Linked DNA regions of Homo sapiens: region 2 is linked to region 1. Evidence: promoter capture Hi-C in human tissues and cell types (Jung and others, 2019). All regions are on one chromosome and are shown on one strand. The core of a region is centred on a gene start or on the middle of the fragment in contact, and the rest is flanking DNA. Distances in the headings are between cores, read along the strand shown. Region 1 holds the start of OR9Q1 (olfactory receptor family 9 subfamily Q member 1). Region 2 has its middle 46 kb from the start of OR9Q1.

Region 1 (3,808 bases), core at 332-2,831:
CCCACCTCGGCCTCCCAAAGTGCTGGGGTTACAGGTATGAGCCACCACACCCGGCCCAAAAGCTCTTTTACAGAGTCATTGTGGTTTTAAATATCAATTCAGTTTTCAAGTGAGAAAATGGAGGCACACAGAATTCAACTGATTTGCTTAAGCTCTTATAGAGTAGGGGTGCCGAGGGACTTTGTGGGGTTTTAGTTCTCCTTCATCTCCATCTGCCTCCTCAAGCCACCTCAAACCTACAATCTAAACAAAATCAATTTGCTTTTGTTATTCCAGGGCAGCTTCATGACCATTCCCAGAGTCCCACCAGATGGCCATTCCCATGCTGTCCCTTTATTGAAATTCTGTGGTCATCGCATAGTCCATAAGCAATAGAAGCAAAAGAGTAAGCAGGTTTTACCAGAGTGTACCTTTAAAGTTTCAAAGAACCCGCACATCCACTATCTCATCAATTCACAGAATGTTCTGAGAGACAACAAGAATAGATATTATTGCTGCCTAGAGATTAAGAGCTAGAAGCTCAGAAAGCTTGATTCTCACCTTGGTTCCTGTCTGCTATAGTGGACTCTCTGGCTTGGTTTGGGTCTGGGGTCTCTGTCACATATATGGCTGGAGAAGCCTCCCACTTATTTTCTTATACCTCAGTTTCCCATTTGTTCCCATCATAGGCAGACTATATGTCAGTAGCTTTGAGGAACAGATTGTATCTGCTCAGTATTGAAGTCCTGGAATAATGAGAGAAGCGCCCAGTTAATTGATCAGATTTTATTTTAGGAATATCACCCTCCCTGGGGAGGTGGTATGATGGAAAGATGGTGGGCTCTGGAGTCAGACTGGGCTGGATTCTCATCTGGACTCTGTCACTTACTAGCTGGTTGAAGCAGGGATTTTGAGAGCCCCACATACTAGGTCCTTTCCTCTTCCCAGCTACCTGGCAACTAAGCAAACCTAGGGCTTGGTGGAACAGAGTTTGAAAACAGCTGATAGAGTACAGCTTTCCGGGAAATTTAGAATTAAATTCTGTAGCTAAGAAAAAGAAATTATATGTAGAAATCAATTCAATTTGCCTCCCACCCAAGGCCATGAGAGCAGGCTGCTCCAGATATACAAGACATCATTCCTGCAGGCATTGTCAGTCTTGTAGTCCGTTGACAGTAATTGCATGGACAACACCCAAATTGATTGACTTTTCTGTAAGTATTGTTGAACTTCCTTTTCCTTAAATTTCCTTAAAAACAGGTAGCTAGAAATGGAAAGGAAACTAAGTACGCTGCCAACGTACAATCAGGAGCATGCAGCCACCCTTTTATTACATCAGTATATATTTATTGCATGTAGACTACATGTCAGTGACTTTGGCATTAGCAACACAGTAATGAACAAACAAACAAAGGCACTATCTTCAAGGAGCTTCCTTTTGTGTGTGTGTGTGTGTGTGTGTGCGTGATGTTATAGACAAACAAATAAATATCTACCAGATGGCAATGAAGCTGTGACCCAAAAAATCAAACTGAGAAGAGGGTCAGAGAGTGAAAGGAACTGCGTTTTCAGATAGGTGGTCAGAAAGGGCCTCTCTGTTAAGGTGGCCCTTGTGCAGGGAATTGAAGAAGTGCAGGAGGATGCCACACAGAGATGGTAGAGGGAGCGAAAGGAGCAAAGGCCCTAACTTTCCCTTAATGATGTCTCCTTCCATCTTTAGTCCAGCCCAGCAATGTACATGTTATCCTTCCCGTTTGAAGATGAAGACACTGAGGCTCAGAAAGATCAAACGCCTTTCCCAAACTCACAGCTACGGCCTGACGGAGGTAGGGTCAAATGCAGCTCCACTGATTTCAGAGACGGTGCTGTTAACACAGGGGGCTGTCTGCATGTTGGAAAGTGAGATGTGCTGTTGCTGTCACGTTGCAGTGGGAGTGGGGAAGCAGGCTGTGATGAGCTAGACCCAAGAGGAATCAGAGAGCAGGTCTCCGGGCTTCATCCTGGGCATCTCCTAGCCCCGCTGTCTGTCTCATAACACCCACCCACTGCGCCTGCTCACCTCGGTTTGTTGGCTGTTTTTTTTTGAAATCATTTCCTGGATCTTAGTAAGTTTATTTTCCAGTTCCTTTCACTTTTTGGGACTAGGCCCCCAGATGCCAGGTGGAGAGAACTGAAAGAGGGAGAAATCCAGCGTTTCTCACCAGGCTTGTCACGTAGCTACACAAGCAAATAGCTACAGGAACCAAGTTTCAATTTTCGTGCATGGGCCTCAAACTGTTTTTCCATATTTGTTAGGGAAAATCTTGGCCAGGGAGCACCGTCTTTTGAGGACACCAAATTGGGCCAAGTTCCTGTGCGGCCTTTCTCCTTATTTAGTGATTGCCCCGTGTGACCCTCTCCTCTCTGGCTGACCTCTTTTTTCCTGCATGGCACTTGGTGGATAAAGTTCCCTGAACCTTGGAGAGGAAGCGGATGCTGTTAATAGCCCTGGGAGTGTGACTGTGCTTTGCAGCTCACTGGAGCCTGTGGGATATTCCTCCAGCCTTGGCGGGGCTCCGAGCTGCAGGGAAATTAACCTCAGAGTCAGGGCAGGGAGCCAGGGTTGCAGGCACGTTGTCATTGGGTGAAATGAGATGGCAGAGGAAAATGGCACGGTGTGGAGGCTTTTTTTGTCAGAAGCTCTGGGGTTTGGCTCTTCTCTGTGCCATGTAGTTCTTTGATCTTGCCCAAGTTTACTTACTGTCTCTCTGAGCCTTCAGTGATTTCAATTGCGTGAAAACCAAGACAAATAACACCTCTATATCAAGAATAGTTCATAGGATCATAGTACAATATTGTGGGGATTAAGCCAGATGGTATCAGCCCATCAGAATCTAGCCCATGGGAGGGGCTCCGTAAATGACCCTTTCTTTTTGAGACGGAGTCTTGCCCTGTCGCCAGGCTGGAGTGCAGTGGCGCGATCTCAGCTCACTGCAACCTCCGCCTCCCGGGTTCAAGAGATTCTCCTGCCTCAGCCTCCTGAGTAGCTGGGGTGCCCGCCGTGCTACTATAGGGTGTGTCCTACAGGCGCACGCCACCATGACCAGCTACTTTTTGTATTTTTGGTAGAGACGGGGTTTCACCGTGTTGGCCAGGATGGTCTTGATTTCTTGACCTTGTGATCCGCCCGCTCAGCCTCCCAAGGTGTTGGGATTGCAGGCGTGAGCCACTGCGCCCGGCCTCCTTTCTCCCTTTTTGGAGAGAAGCTCATCTTCCTACCAACACATGACCCGAAGACGTGTTGGGGCAGGGGGGAAGAGGAGTAGAATTTGGATGCTCTGGAACTCTCGCTCAGAAAGAGTTTCTCATTAGACTTGTCTCTGATGACTTCAATGATTCCATCAGATATTCATTCCGTTGGGTTAGGCATTGCCTCCCATCTAGGTTGCTTTCATTTGATTTCAGTTAGAAGGTGGTGGAGCTGAGATTTGAAGGCATCAGGTGGTCTAATGCCTGAATGTAGCCTTAACCACTGTGCTCTCCTGACTCTCTCCGTGGACCTCACAACCTCTTCTAACAATTCCTCTGGGCATATTACCTACTTCCACCTGTCTCTCCCCTGGCTTGCTGGGGTGCCTCCCCCTCCCTCTACTGCACTTGGTTTTGTCAGTTAAGGATTGCCTTCTTTCCACCGTCCCCCACCCTCAGTGTGATTTAATTGGGAAATTGTTTCTTGATCTTACCTGTCCTGTCTTCCTTGTATGCCAACTTCACTGCCCCCTACTTTGTTCTACCAGACACATTGCAATTAGCTCATCACATCTCTGTTCTAACCCTTGAGTACTTCTCT
Region 2 (3,808 bases), core at 859-3,358, 46 kb before region 1:
GGGTCTATATTTTTAAATTTTTATTTTATTTTTAATTGTGGTTATAAACGTATCACATTAAATTTACTATCTTAACTATTTTTGTGTCCAGTTCAATAGTGTGAAGTATATTCACATTGTTGTGCAACAGATCTCTAGAACTTTTTCATTTTGCAAAACTGAAACTTGATGGCCAGAAACAAACTAATTCTCCTTCTCCACTCTCCCCGTCCTTGGCAACCACTTTCTTACTTTCTGTTTTTATAATTTTGACTACTTTAGATATCTCATGTGAGTGGAAAAGTGCTGTATTTGTGCTTTTGTGACTAGCTTATATAACTTAGCATAATGTCCTCAAGGTTTATGCATGTTGAATGTGACAGGGATTTCCTTCTTTTTAAAGGCTGCGTAATACTCCATTTTAATGCATATACCACGTTTTCTTTATCCATTCATCTGTTGATGAACATGTGAGTTTATGCTTATGTATCTTTTTCCAAACTACTTGAAAGTAGTTGGAACATTATGATGCTTTACCCTTAAACACTTCACCTTAAATACTAGCTGCTAAGAAGAAGGCCATTCTCTTACATAACCACAATTACATGATCATGTTTAAGAAATTTAATATGCAGTCTATACTCAAATTCAAATTTTCCCAATTGTTTTAATAATAAAATAATATATCTATTTATTTTGAATCTAAGGTCCAATCAGGGATTATTCATTGCATTTAGTTATCGTGTCCATTAGTTTTTAAATTTAATTTTAATCTAGATTTTTAAAACTTTTATTTTGGAATACTGAAAGTTCTGAAGAGTCCAGACCAGTGTTTTTGCATAATGCTCTATAATTTAAACTTCTCGAATTTTTCCCTATGATTAGATTTAGGCTAGATATTTTTGGCAAGAACTCTACACAGATAATGTGTTCTTCTCATGTAGGAGACACAAAATGTCATTTTTTCCCCATTACTGGTGGTATTAATTTGTTTACATAATTAAGTTGATGTCTGCCAGATTTTATTTCCATTAGGTATCTTTTTCTCTTTGTTATTAAAAAGCGACCTGTGGGGTGATACTCTGAGACTGATTTAGCACCCATTGATAATCCTAACCTGCATCAATCATCACATTGGTGGTTTCGAAGTAAACCGTGTCTTAAACTTTAATTTCTCTAGTGAAAGTTATTTCTAATATTCTTTATGCCAATCAGCTAGCCCTAAGAGGCTGAATAAAATTAACTTTCACACACACCACACTACTCATCCTGATGTAGTTCCTAGTAAATCACTATGAATAACATTTAACACCTATTTGACCTATTTACTGGGTGATCTGAAAAGCCACCAGGTTTGATGAGAGCTGGGCCAGGGGAAAGCATCTCCAGGGGGTAAAAGCTTTTAAGTTGATTGGCTCTGCAGCTAGGCTCTTAAGACCCAGCAAATTTTGTAAGCTGCATGGGACAAATTGGCTTGCTAGGATTTTGGAGGAAAGTCACCTCTTTCAGCAAAGAACTTTTTTCTTTTTTTTAAAAAAAAAAAAAAAAAAGGAAATAACCCCTGACTTGCAATTGGGCTGTACTCTGGTCTGAATATTTGTGTCTCCTGCAAATCCACATGCTGAAATCCTAACCCCCAAGGTGGTGGTATTAGAAGGTGGGGCCTTTTAGAGGTAGTTAGGTCACAAGGGTGAAGTCCTCATGAGTGAGATTAATGCCCTTATAATAAAAGAGACCCCAGAGAGCTGCCTTGTCCCTTCCACCATGTGAGGACACAGCAAGAAGCTGGCAGTCTGCAATCCAGGGGCAGGCCCTCACCAGAACCTGACCGTGCTGGCACCTGATCTTGAACTTCCCAATCTCCAGAATTGGAAGAAATAAATTTCTGTTGTTATGAGCCCCTCAGTCTCAGGTATTTGGTTTTTATAGCAGCCCAAATAGACAAAGACACGCTCTGATGGTTAAGGGTTTGGAAGAAGCAAGACTGGGAAATGGCTGAGGAGGCCTGTGAAGGTGTCTGTGAACTGACCTCTCAGGTAAATGTGAAGTGAGGAGCTATTTGTGGCCCACATGAATGCTTGCCACAAGGCCTTGATACAGAGGGGGCCTTTGTGACTACGTAAGTAGGATGGATGGCCCACTCTGTGAGATGTTAGACTCCTTTCCCAGATATCCCAATGCTCACAAAAATTGGGGTATCCCAGATACCTCAGTGCTCACAAAGTGAGTGTGGTGGCAGGAAGGGAGGCTGTGCCTGTACTCAACAACCCTTTTCCTCTCACCAAGTCTGACCTGCTGTGGTGGAGTGCAGGGACTGTTGGCAGCAGTGGCCAAGTGGCCCTGAGCTCTTGGAATGCTGTGATAACTGGAGGGTGGGGGGAAGGGCAGCCAGCTCCCCAGAGGTAGATTAGCTGTATTGGATTCTTTCCACGATGGAGGAAGTAATGCTTTGTTTCCAAATACTCTGGGTTTGGGTTGGCTTTTGTTGCTTGCCTTAGCTCTGCCAGCACCACCATCCATATGCGAGTGGTTCTCAACCAGGGAAAATCTGGCTTTCAGGGAACACTTGACAATGTCTAGAGACATTCTGATTGTCATATCTTGGGAGGGGGATGCGGCTACTGGCATCTGGTTGGTAGATGTCAGGAATGCAGCCAAACATCTTACAGTGCCTAGGACAGCTCCACAACAAAGAATTATCTGGTTCAAAATGTCAAGAGTGTTGAGGTTGAGAAACCATTTTATTCCATCAAGGTGTCTTCCAGATATCTTAACTATAAAGGAACTTACCTGTAGTTAAAGAAAGAAAGGCAGCTGCGTGCAGTGGCTCACACCTGTATTCCCAGCACTTTGGGAGGCTGAGGCAGGTGGATCGCTTAAGGTAAGGAGCTCAAGACCAGCCCGGCGAACATGGTGAAACCCCATCTCTACTAATAATACAAAAATTAGCTGGGCATGGTGGTGGGTGCCTGTAATCCCAGCTACTCAGGAGGCTGAGGCAGGTGGATTGCTTGAACCTGGGAGGCCGAGGTTGCAGTGAGCTGAGATCGTGCAACTGCTCTCCAGCCTGAGTGACAAAGAGCAAGACTCCGTCCCCCCGACCCCCCACCCACCAACAAAAAAGGCAGTAGTATGTTTAGTAATTGTGTCCAGTTGCAAGTAACTGAAAATATGACTAAATGAGATTTTATTTTTCTCAAGTAAGTTCCCATCTTTGGTTCAGGTGCTTTGAAATGTCAAAGCTGAGGCTGATTGTGATTCTATTTGCTTTCCTTCTTACTGCAAGATGGTCCACTAGAATGTACACACAACAAGGGCAAGGATATTTGCTTACTGCTATATCGCCATAGCTTGGAAGAATGGCAGGTACTCATTAACTGACCATTTGCTGAGTGGAGCGCCAGGCAGCAGAAAAAGAAGAATATGCAAAAGAAGAGATAAGTTTCATGTTAGGAAAATAAAACAGTCCTAGAAAATCCACAGGCAACTTTCACTTGGGCTTCGCTGGCCAGATCTCAGGGACACCTGTAAGGGAGGCTGGAACATATAATTTTCAGCTTGGAATATTGCTGCCAGATACTCAAAAATATTGCTTTTCTGTAAGTAAGGAAGAAGTGGGGATGGATATCTAGTAGCAATAAAGACAATTTTTGATAGGTCTTGGACATGGGCTTGCAGACTTATCTCTAGGCAAGACCTTGAGCATGGAGAATGTGAGAGATTGCAAGATCAGGACCATAGAAATGAAAACTAGAGCAACTGCTTCTCAGAAGACTCATCAGAATCAGCAGAGAAACAGCCTGGTGGTAAACTTGTGACTGCTTCATGT

What was found. Contacts are between HindIII fragments. The study calls those that stand out against the background at their distance.
Region 2: a fragment that was not itself captured here is called in contact with the fragment with the promoter of OR9Q1 in region 1 in 1 of the 25 tissues and cell types used here (neural progenitor cells).

What each region holds. Positions count from the first base shown.
Region 1 is chr11:58,022,300-58,026,107 of GRCh38, forward strand. It overlaps OR9Q1 (olfactory receptor family 9 subfamily Q member 1), which reads left to right and starts at 1,582. Exons shown (of 3, transcript NM_001005212.4): 1 at 1,582-1,805. It overlaps LOC107984331 (a long non-coding RNA gene), which reads right to left and starts at 2,120. Exons shown (of 3, transcript XR_001748218.1): 1 at 1,788-2,120; 2 at 541-725. The HindIII fragment of the contact is 7,062 bases long and covers 1-3,808 here.
Region 2 is chr11:57,975,591-57,979,398 of GRCh38, forward strand. No RefSeq gene overlaps it. Among named protein-coding and RNA genes, the nearest start is that of OR9Q1, 46 kb to the right of the region's middle. RefSeq lists a silencer at 3,187-3,481. The HindIII fragment of the contact is 3,369 bases long and covers 425-3,793 here.